Linked DNA regions of Homo sapiens: regions 2, 3 and 4 are each linked to region 1. Evidence: promoter capture Hi-C in 16 types of primary human blood cells and fetal thymus (Javierre and others, 2016). All regions are on one chromosome and are shown on one strand. Each heading gives the region's core, a stretch centred on a gene start or on the middle of the fragment in contact. The rest is flanking DNA. Distances are from core to core; before and after follow the strand shown. Region 1 holds the start of HSF2 (heat shock transcription factor 2). Region 2 has its middle 2.4 kb from the start of NT5DC1. Region 3 holds the start of TSPYL1 (TSPY like 1). Region 4 has its middle 7.0 kb from the start of RWDD1.

Region 1 (2,751 bases), core at 102-2,601:
TCAATAATATATGTAAAGCCCTTGGCATATATAAGGGCTCATCAAATATTACTTCCTCTATCACATGCATGCCTCCATATATCTGATTTTGCTTCAGCCAACATCCCAGTGCTGAGCACAAAGGCAGCATTCACTAAATACTTGCTCATTGGAAGAGATATACATATATCTTCCATTAAATGATAGATATATATTTAATGTACTATTTTACATTCACCCAAGAAGTAAACCAATCCTATGTTGAAGTTTTGTATGTTATCTCTGACTTGTTTGTAAGTTTTTGCCTTCACATGCTGACTTTTGTAAAAAAAAAAAGTCGAATTTTGTAGACTTCATATTTTCAAAGCATTTGCACAGCCATTATAGTATTAAAGACACTCTTAGTGGGTAAAAAGATAGATCTTATTCCCAGTCAAGAAATGGAAAAAACTGGCACTGGTGGCTAAGGAATTGTTCTAAATGACAGAACCAGTGTATTTTAATATACAGAAAAATGTCCAAGAGGCTTTATCTAAACTGAGATCTACTGACTCCTTTTCCATTGTTTTTTCCACTATACCAATCTCTTAGGCAAAAAAGACTATATCTGTAAAGTATACGCAGGAAAAACTATTTTAATTAACTAAAATAGTACAAATGAGTCTATTTCTTTTTATTCTGGGTACAGAGTAGGCACTTGATGACTGGATTAAAAACAGCACATGATATATCAATTGCAGTTCCTGGTTTACAGTTTTAAGTAATCGAGAGTGAGTTATTTAAACTGCTCTTTTTGATAAACATATTTTAAAGAGGGCTTTTTCTCCCAATGAAAATGTAAGAACAAGTTTCATTATTTTTAAGACAATTTCAATTTGGGGCCTAGCACATCATGCTTGAGAGCTGGTTTTTTCCTTATGCAAATGGATCCTTTCTCTAAACTGGTGCAAACCACACTTTGCCTGCCAAACTTATGACTCAAAGGCCCTGAAGGGTTTCTGTAGCCTCCCAGCCACAGCCCAGAAACCATAAGCTGTTTCCACGTGAAACATCCAAACACGGTCTCCCAAGCCTAAGTCTGCTACCATCAAGGCTTCTGTATAAAAGGCAAATGAGGAGGCAGCGCCCCCTTCTGCTCCCACCCCCTTCTGCTCCCACCCCCTTCATGTCAGCAGCAGCCAATCGCTTTTCTCTGTCGTGCAGTCGGCTCCTGGGATTGGCCAGGGACGGGACAGGCGCGGAACCACTGCGCGCACAGGCGGAGCGCGGAGACTTGTCCGTCACGTGCGGCCGCCCGGCCTCTCGGCCTTGCCGCGCGCCTGGCGGGGTTGGGGGGGCGGGGACCAAGATCTGCTGCGCCTGCGTTGTGGGCGTTCTCGGGGAGCTGCTGCCGTAGCTGCCGCCGCCGCTACCACCGCGTTCGGGTGTAGAATTTGGAATCCCTGCGCCGCGTTAACAATGAAGCAGAGTTCGAACGTGCCGGCTTTCCTCAGCAAGCTGTGGACGCTTGTGGAGGAAACCCACACTAACGAGTTCATCACCTGGAGCCAGGTACGGTCAGGCCACGGCGGCCTCTGAACCCCCTGAATAACCGCCTCCTCACTCGCTCTCCTGCGGGGTGGTCTCTCGCGGCCTTGCGGCTCGACGCTGTCTGCGAGGCCCGCGGTGCGGGGCCTTGGCGTTCAGCCTCGCGGGGGACCCCCTGTATTGTTCGCTCGGGGAGCCGCGGGGGCCCGGCCGGCAGCGCCGCTCTCCTCAGGCCGCGGTGGGGGAGGGGCGGCCCGCGCGGGGCGTAGCGGCCCAGGCAGCCCCTTAACGGTCCGGTCCGCGTTCGGAACCGGCCCGGCGTCGCGAGGGGAATCGGCGAGCCGAGGGCGCGGGAGCCTCTTTACTGCACACTCATCCTCCGTCCTCCCGCCCGGCTCAGGGGTTACAAATCGCGGAGGGGACAGGGAGCCCAGGGCCAGGATCATCAACGTGGGGCTTTATAGGAGGCGATCTTTACCTCAGCGACCGATCACCCCCAGTTCCCCCAACATTGCTTTGCATCTGGCATCTTTATGTGGAGAGCAGTCAGGGCAATAGACATACGTTCAAACGCAGGTTACTGCTTATCAGTTGGTTTTAAAAATATATAGAAATTAACAAATTATTCTTTTGAGATTCTGTGCTATTTGTATAATGGGATTATTAGGATTGTTTTAATAAAGTACTAATAGGTGGTAACTTAGTAGTTACTAAATTTCGCTGAACAGTTACCAGCAGAGGGGCATATCGATGTGTTGATTATTGGTTTGATCTCAACTCTGCTTCTAAACAAGCATGACCTTAGTCCAGCCCTTTATCTTGTCTGGCCTAAGTTAAATCTTTCATAAGATGGATGGGTTGCCTAGGTGACCCAAGACCTATATCAGTCCCAAATACAAGATTTTAGGCAGAATGATTATTTACATCCACAGTGCATGTGCATTAGAATACACTCCTAGGCTGTTGGAATCATTTTTATGAAGGAAAGTGGTTAACTCTTATTGTAGATGATCACCTATTGAGGCATATTTTCATATGTGTAGTTCTTGAGAAGAATAAGTGAAAACTACCTGCATAGTGCCTGGCACCTGTTAAGTGCTGAGTAAATGTTATCTCCCGTCCTCCTTTCTTTCCTGTTCTCCTATTATAGGAACTCTTAGTTTTATTTACTTTTGTCTTAACAGGGAGTGAGCACCATATTAAGACCCTGAAGTTTTGACTTCTGTAATACCATAGTTTGCCTTG
Region 2 (2,751 bases), core at 172-2,671, 6.3 Mb before region 1:
AAGTATTTTTTATTAAGAAATGTAAAGATTTTAAGATTACTAAAAAAAAATAAAAAATATTCCTCATGCAGGACTACTGCCATCTAAAGGCCTCAGCATAATATTACAAATAAGTATTTGGTTCTATGTAGCTAAATGTCTAATATTTAAGTGCCATAGAGTTTTATTTTTAGAAATTCATATTTTTCCTATTTTTTTCCAATTTAGTAAATGAACTTTTTTCTTACCCCTTAAAGAATTATATGTGCCACAGAAGATATGTAGATTGGCTTAGGTTATACAAAAAGTTGAACATACAATGTTTAATTAGGAATATTTAGAAAAGCATATTTTAAACTAATGAAAAAAGAAACAGGCCATTTCCCTCCTTCCCAAAAATGTATGGCAAATCATATTTACAATATAGATGTTAAAATAAAGTATTATAAATTCACAAAAGATCAGTTATTGAGATATTATAGAGTCTAAAGCTTAAGCTAGCTAATCACAAGTCACACCTAAGGTTAAAATTGCTAAATTATAGTACCACCTCAATTAAAAGCAGATCAATTGTAATAATGAAATTTAATTCTAGAAAATCGGCTGTAATATAACTTCCTGTTTCTGAATATTTCTAAATTATTACATAACTCATAAGTATAAGAAAAAACAGTACATGAAATACTAAAAACAAAAAAACTCTAAAACTTCACAGCATGGTATTAATGTTACACATAAGCAAAAGTACCCAACTTCAAGAAGTCAACAAATAACATAAACCCAAGTTCATGTCCTTTACAGACCTTTCAAATGGCAAATATTTCCTACATTTAACACAACACTGATTTGAGTCAATTATCCTTATTAACTGCCTTAGTTGGCTCAGCGTGCCTTAACAGAATACCACACAATGGGGTTTAGACAACAAAAAATTATTTTCTCACAGTTCTGGAGGCTCAAAGTCCAAGATCAAGGCGCTGTCAGGGTTGGTTTCTGGTGAAGCCACTCTCCTTGGCTTACAGACAGCTTTTTTTTTTTTTTTTTTTTTTTTTTTAAAAGACAGGGTCTCTCTCTGTCACCCAGGCTGGAGTGCGATGGCCTGATTCCAGCCCACTGCAACCTCTGCCTCCCAGGTTCAAGCGATCCTCCCACCCCAGCCCCTACAACAGCTAGGACTATAGGTGCCTGCCACCATACCCTGCTAATTTTTGTATTTTTTCTAGAGATGGGTCTCGCTATGTTGCCCAAGCTGGTCTTGAACTCCTTACCTCAAGCGATCTGCCTACTTTGGCCTCCCAAAGTGCTGGGATTACAGGTGTGTGCCACGACGCCAGGCAGACAGCCGTGGTTTTGTGGCTCCTCACATGGCCTTTCTTGTGTGCTTGAAAACTCTGGTGCCCCTTCCTCTTCTTACAAGAATGCTAATCCTGTTGGATTAGGGCTCCACCCTTATGGCCTTATTTAACATTAATTACTTCCTTAAAGGCCCTATGTCAAATATAAACACATTGTGGGTTAGGTCTTCAACACATGAATGAGTGGGGGACAAAATTCAGTCCATGATACTCAAAGAAACAGAAATTAATTGGTATCTAAGTAGAAGACTGAACTTGTAGTTGATAATACAAGAGCTGTGGCATTTTATCAGTAAGTGTGATAAAAGTTTAATGTGCAGGGAAAATGAAATATCTTTATCCAAAAATAAGCCTTATGAAACAATTAAACTGAGTGTTTGTATTTAAACTCAGGGTTATGTAGGGAATGGGAGAAGAGAAGGGAACCATCCCCTATATTTCTGGAAGAGTCAGACTGAGGTTTGAGGTACAAAGGAAAGGTGAGTGGGGCTCAAGAAAGAGTACAAGCCTCTAGGATTGGATCATTTGCAAAATTCTCCCACAAAGTTTAAATGATGTGGACTCTCTAGCACAAGAACTGTTTGTGCAAACATGCAGAATATATATAATTTGTTAATCAGCAAGTACATAAGATTGTTGATGTGCATGTAATAGCCAGATCCAGTCCCAGGACCACTTGGTTATCGACCCAGGGGTCTTTTTCTCTTTAAGAGTGCCCTGGTTCCCTCTCTCCCCTTACCCCAAGTCAATTTCCTGTTCACAATTCAGCACACTCAAGAGGTTTTGTAAGGAGAAGTTTTTGCTAAGTCAACAAAAAACAATCCTTTTATACTCTTCCCTCTTACAATGAATGTACTAGTACATTTGTATTACTAAGGGAAGTCCCTAAAGTACCTAAAGCACCTACTCCCACATGAAACAAGATATTCCCCAAGGAAACATGTGCCCTTCAATGTGGCATGCACCTGGAAGTTTGACTTTGGTAGCATTCTATTGCAAGGTGCAGAGGAGAATGCCAAGGTCAATGCTCCAGGGCCAACAAGCTTTTTCCAGCCTCTCCAACAATCCAGCCTTTTCTCTTTTGGTTCACAGACATTGAAAACATGATTGTTGGACTCATCAGTGAACAGCTTAATCTTCTTGAAGATTCTTTACTTTTCCTATTCCAGAGAGATTTGTTTGGGGCTTTTAAGTGTTATAATGGAACAAGTTATCAATTTTATTCAAATGGGTCTACTAGGTATAAGTGTCCTCCTACTCAATTGTACTATCTATTGCACTAAATTAATCCTCTGATTGGTCTATTAGCCTCAGAAGGATTAGTATTTGAAAGGGTTAAATGCAGTTCTCAATCAATTATATTTTCATTATGTCACGACTATTGATTTGTCCCATTAGACACATTGTTCCTTTAAAT
Region 3 (2,751 bases), core at 123-2,622, 6.1 Mb before region 1:
GCTCCCTTAGCGGGCGACGTCGGGCTCTACGGACTCCTTCACGCAACAGGTAGTATTGCAGTGGATTTGGCCACAGATCCTCTTTAATAATCTCAGCAATTTTGTCGGACTCTGGAAGGCTGTGGTCTGAAAACCAAGTGAAGAAGCTGCAGATGAGGTCTTGGTTTCTGCGAATGAAGGACTGGGGTTCATGCCCCCTGCGCCATATAATTGGAGTAGAAAGAGACACCACTCGGCCGGAGGATCTTACCTCATATTCCTTGACAATCAGCTTGTTTCTGAAGTAGGGGTTTCTTCTAAAGAAGAACTTGAACTTGCAACCGGTTCTAGGGTGTCTGAGTTCCTTCACCTCTAAATTGGTTATGTACCTTAACATCTCTGCATCTTGGCCCCTAATCATGGCGGACAACTGGGGGTGGTTTCGAAAAGCAGTCATCCAGAAGCCCGGGATATTCTGAATGATGTAGTTCCTCCGCTCCAGGTAGTGTCGACGCATCCGCCCAAACTTGTGCTCCAGCTGTTGGAAGGCCCTGTCGGCCTGAGCATTCACAGTGTCCAGTTCCAGCTGGATGGCCTCCAGAGGGTCCATGCGGAGAGCCTCATGCAAAGGCCAGGGCCCTTCTTCCTCCCTCGCCTCCTCCTCCAATCTATCCTCCTCCGCCACTTCTATTTCTTCACCTTCTGGCGGCTGCTCCTCTACCTCCATCTGCTCCTCCATTACCTCCTTCTCCGCCAGGCCTTCCTTCACCACCTCAGCGCTCTCCCTCTCAGCCACGGCTGCTGAGACGGTGGCGCACTTTCCTGTCTTCACCTCCTCCGCCTCAGCCTCCGCCCCCGCCGTCAGCTCAGACGCGGATCTCTGGGCGCCACAGATTTCTAGGGCCTTCTCTCCACCCTGAACGCCCTTTTTCAGGCTGCGGTCGGCTGCCATCACCACAGAAGCGGCTGCCAGGCCTTCGGCGGGAGGCTGGCCCTCTTCCTGCCCGGCTTTGATCGCCACATGACCGCGACCCCCAACAACTCGGATCTGGGGAGTACCGCCACGGCCCGCGGCATCCTGGGGTACGCCCCCCTCCTCTGAAGGCGGTGGAGGCGGGAGCGCGACGGTCTCCGAGCCTCCCTCACCCGGCTCCGCCATCACCTGTGTCGCCTCGCTTTGGTCGCGGAGCCTCAGGTACTGGTGTGCGTCCTGGTCGCTCGGGACTTGGTCAGAAATAATGATGCTGTGGGTTTGGAGGGGAGTGGTCCTCTTGACCCCATCCAGGCCGCTCATGTTGCTAACAGTCGGACCAACCGCAGGCGAACGCCCGTTTTCCTCAGAGGCCGAACTGGGAGCTAACCGCCGCTCGCACCGCCCACCCTACAGTCTCACTAACATTTCAGCGGCGGTGTCGTCAGGACTGGAGATCTCACGGTATCGCGAGAACTTGCTGAGCCCGGGATTGGTTCCGCCGCTCCCTGCCAGCCAACCGGATTCTCTGGGCTTTATTTCTGTGAATTTACCCATAGCAACAGTAATTTTACCTACGTAAATAAATGTCGATTGTGCTGAGTCTGGAAGCGCGGACGACCCACCTTGAGATGCATCTAGCGACTGCTCCCAGCATGTAGGAGCAGTTGTAAAATCACAGCCGTAACAGTGCCTGCTCTCCAGTGTCTGAAAACAAATGTTTTTCTGGTCTTCACTTTTTTGAGGCAGGAAGGTAAATCTATTCCCTGTTACTCCACGTAACTAGCAGCAAAAGACTTCTCTTTAAGATTAATAGCAAAATGTTTCCCCCCTTCTTAGTAAAAGTGACATAAAAATATCAATTCTTGCCTCTACGGTTACTGGGGAAAAAAAGCTACTCAGCAGCCTCTTACCACTAAAGCGATGCATAGTATTCATTGCTAATTTTCGATTTATAATCTGCATCAAATAAGAGTTTGTGCTGCATAGTATCGGTAGAAATTAAGCCAGGATCAGTTTGCTAAATGTTCCATGCCTTTTCACTGCAAGAAAGAGGAAATTATAACTATTTCCAGCCCCAAGAACTTAATTTATTATCATATTTAGTTATGTAAGATAGGAATGTTTGGCTCTAACGAAGCATCTGTCTTTAGCAATCAGCTGAGTTCATTAGAGGGGGATGTCAATGTCTCTGGTTGAAGTGTTCCAGTTTGTTGACTTGTGAGTTAAACTGGTGCTGTCTTAGAGAGCTACAAGGCCTCAGAGAAATATCAGTGGGGGGAGCCACATACCACCATTTTGTGAGGAAAGGCTAGTTAAAATGGACAACTAAGATGGCCTTGAAGTAGAAAACAAACTTGCAAAGGGCAACATGCAGCTGGTGGACTCAAGGTATAAAAGAGGCAAACGTTATTTTCTACTTAATTTGCTTTGTGTGGTAGTAGCCTGATGGCCCTCAAAGATGTACCTGTCTTAGTTATGCGGCCAAAGGGACTTCGCAGATATGATTAAGTTAAAGATTTGGAGATGAGAAGATGATTCTGGATTATACAGGTGGGCCCTATGGAATTACAAATTTCTTATAAGAAGGAGGCAGGAGGGTCAGTCAGAGAAGATAAGAGGACGAAAGCACAGAGAGAGGGAAGGAATGGTGGAGAATAGGTGTGGGAGGGAGGAAAGGGAAATCGCTATGTTGCTGGCTTTGAAGATGGAGGAAGGAGCCAGGATCGTAGGAATAAAGGCAGCCTCTAGAAGCTTGAAAGGTAAGGAAATAGATTCAATCCTAGAGCCTCCAAAGGAAT
Region 4 (2,751 bases), core at 93-2,592, 5.8 Mb before region 1:
GCCAATACACTTCAGGAGCTTATGAGCCCACAAGCCTGTTGAATGAGACTCCCTGGATTAAGACCTCTAGGTCATTTCTAACACAAGCATCCTGATTCTATATGTGCTGACACTCTGCCTTGGGCAAAACTGTTGCTCCTGGAAAACAAATATATCTATAATATAATATTTTATGAATAAAATACAATGTGCTCTAATATTTTACAGTGTGCTAAAGTGCAGAAAGAGCTGAATATAAACTTCATAGGCATTTGTGGATGTTTTACCTTAAGCTGCAAATAAACATTTAAATATATTTTTCTTCTGTAGTTGTCAGTTAGTGGCATCAACAGAACTATTTACTATAAATTATTTCATAATGTAGACATATGCTAGCATTTCAAATGTGAGAAAGCAAATGTGAAAGCACAATCAATCAATCTCTGGATCTACATGGTGTTTTATTGATTGCACAAATTTCATAAGTCGATAATAGGTGACCTATTATTGATAAGTTTATGCCTGCCGTCATTCTTTCATGTTGAAATAACTTGAATTTGGAAAAGCTGCCTACAAAATAAGCATCTTTAGTCCAATGATGATTTAATAGATCCTATGCTGTCCTGTGAGACAGGTTTATATTTCATGGGGAAGATAATGCAAAAAGCAAAATTCATCCAAGTTATTACTGGCAGAGCTAGAATAATAATTTAATATGCGATTCAGTACTGCGCGCCATCAGGGAGCCTGATGTTTTGAGCTCCTTCTAGGAAATTGTCTGGGGCTCATTGGCATGGGGTGCCCTGAGCCAGACCAGACTGCGGGGACCCGTTTCTTCCCTTCCCCACATCCCTACACTCTTCGACCCTCTTCCCACAGCATGGCATGCCGGGGTGTTCTAGCTGGAAGTGCCAGCTCCCACCTGCAGCCCTGGAGCCGGCGAGGTGGTGGCAGCAGCAGGTCCTTTCCTTGGTGTGCCGCTGCACTGGGCCCAGGGTGGTCTCCACTGTGTGCCGCGGATCAGGCTGTCCTCTGGGGTGGTGTGTCTACTACCAGTTCTCTGATGGCTTTTGAGGGGCCTTACAGATTGCTGTCCCTTTCTGGCTTCAGATCAGTGTTGTGAATCTGTGCTCTCTTGGGCTGGTCAAGGACATTCCCTGCACTGGAATGGAACTGCTTATCTGGCACCACCCTTAGGACCTTCTCCCTTCTTCCCACTTGGTGGCCAAGTGTAGAAGGTGCGGTGCAGCGACATTAAAAGAGACATCGTTTTAGGAATGCAGTGATTATGGCCTAAGGCATTCAAGAAAAGACATAGTTGGAAGATGTGTAGTAAATTTAACTGACTGGAAAATAACCATTCCCATTTTCCTGCATACTTTGGGTAAAATTTCCATTTGTGGTCATCAATAAAGAACATTCTTTGAGAAAGACTTTGGAAGCCAGTATTCAGGAGCAGCAGGATGAATGACGCAGCTTAACGAGTAATGATGTGACCAGCATTACAAAAAAAGGTATTGGGATACTGCAGAGGCAAGAAGAACGATTTTGTTTTGCTAGAAATGACAGTGAGCCACGGGATTGTGTGTAGAAGCACTGCTTTTTTTTTTTTTTTTTTTTTGTTCTTCTAAATCATGGTGAGAGATATGAAATTAGACAGTAGTGCATTTGACAATAAAGAACATGAAGAGATGGCTCTTCTTCCTGAATAGAAAGAGATGGTGCCTGGACACTATAGAGAATCTTCAGACAAACTGATTAAACAAAAAGAAATGTATATGTATTGTCACAGGCTCCTTCAGGTGCTGCTTTACCAGCTGGAAACCTCTGTGGCCAGTGGTACCTCTACTTGAGTTTTGCTTGTTCCTGCTGGACTCGTTCAGCCCACTTGGCCCAGCAGGCCGTGCTCGCTTGTGCTACCGGCCCAGATCCTATGCCTGCGGAGAGTGAACCAGGCGCGGAGCGGCAAGGCGTGTGTGAGCGAGCAAGTACGGGGTCCGGCCACTGTACACAGCAAGCATGCCGGCTGCTGCAGCGGGGTGGGTAGCTGCCGCAGCGGGGCGGGTAGCTCCTGGCACCGTCACCGAGCGAGACTGCGGCGGGACCAGGCATACCGCAAGCAGCTTCCACTGTAGACACGAGTGTCTGGACGAGGGGAACGCGGTGGCACCCAAAAACTCAGAGATTCCAGGAACCACAGAGCTCCAAAGAGGGTGTTACAATGTGTCACAGCCCTGGCTCAGGGAGCCCCGAGGTCTGTGCTTCCAGAATGGCCACAGCTCTTCTCTCCCTCTTGTCATCTGCAGTGTGGGCAGCGGGGATGGGGGCCATGTTTGAGGGAGTGTATTTCAGCCCCTTGGTGGTATAGGTCTTTCAGTCTCAACACCCCGCTCTGGCCTGGCCCTGCGGCTGCTTTCGGTCATATGGGGCAGCCGCCCTGCACTAGCAGAGGGTGGGAGGACTATAGTGTTAAAGCTCTGGCTTGGGGACTCCCAAGATCTAGGTCCCCAGAAGGGTTGCCACTCTTCCTTCCTGCAGTCTGGGAGCATATCACCGCCCACAGCTCAGCAAGCAGGCCAGGAACATGTCACAGCCCCTTTAGCTCCCGCCTGCAGTTCAGCAAACCGGCCAGAAAAGTGTTACAGCTCCTTTTGCTCCCGCTGTTCGGCAGGTCCTGAGTTCTTGTCCTTCGTCCAGAAAGAATGAGGTTATGCAGAAAACTGGAAGGTAAGCAAGGCAGAGAAGAGCTTTATTGGGTGACCGAACTGCGCC

Evidence for each region. The method cuts DNA at HindIII sites, captures the fragments that hold promoters and counts their contacts. A CHiCAGO score of 5 or more calls a contact.
Region 2: a fragment that was not itself captured here is called in contact with the fragment with the promoter of HSF2 in region 1 in 2 of 17 cell types (non-activated CD4 T cells and total CD4 T cells); the score reaches 6.0 in non-activated CD4 T cells.
Region 3: a contact is called between the fragment with the promoter of TSPYL1 here and the fragment with the promoter of HSF2 in region 1, in 1 of 17 cell types (activated CD4 T cells). The highest score is 10.8, in activated CD4 T cells.
Region 4: a fragment that was not itself captured here is called in contact with the fragment with the promoter of HSF2 in region 1 in 1 of 17 cell types (naive CD8 T cells); the score reaches 6.5 in naive CD8 T cells.

Annotation. Positions count from the first base shown.
Region 1 is chr6:122,398,301-122,401,051 of GRCh38, forward strand. HSF2 (heat shock transcription factor 2) reads left to right here and starts at 1,352. Exons shown (of 13, transcript NM_004506.4): 1 at 1,352-1,530. The coding sequence starts at 1,438. RefSeq lists silencers at 1,088-1,407, 1,678-1,797 and an enhancer at 1,648-2,147. The HindIII fragment of the contact is 3,471 bases long and covers 1-2,751 here.
Region 2 is chr6:116,097,095-116,099,845 of GRCh38, forward strand. It overlaps a transcript of FRK not described here. Among named protein-coding and RNA genes, the nearest start is that of NT5DC1, 2.4 kb to the right of the region's middle. The HindIII fragment of the contact is 1,907 bases long and covers 469-2,375 here.
Region 3 is chr6:116,278,558-116,281,308 of GRCh38, forward strand. It overlaps TSPYL1 (TSPY like 1), which reads right to left and starts at 1,373. Exons shown (of 1, transcript NM_003309.4): 1 at 1-1,373. The coding sequence starts at 1,273. It also overlaps a transcript of DSE not described here. RefSeq lists enhancers at 737-786, 807-1,076, 1,307-1,366. The HindIII fragment of the contact is 6,415 bases long and covers 1-2,702 here.
Region 4 is chr6:116,563,111-116,565,861 of GRCh38, forward strand. No RefSeq gene overlaps it. Among named protein-coding and RNA genes, the nearest start is that of RWDD1, 7.0 kb to the right of the region's middle. The HindIII fragment of the contact is 5,903 bases long and covers 1-2,751 here.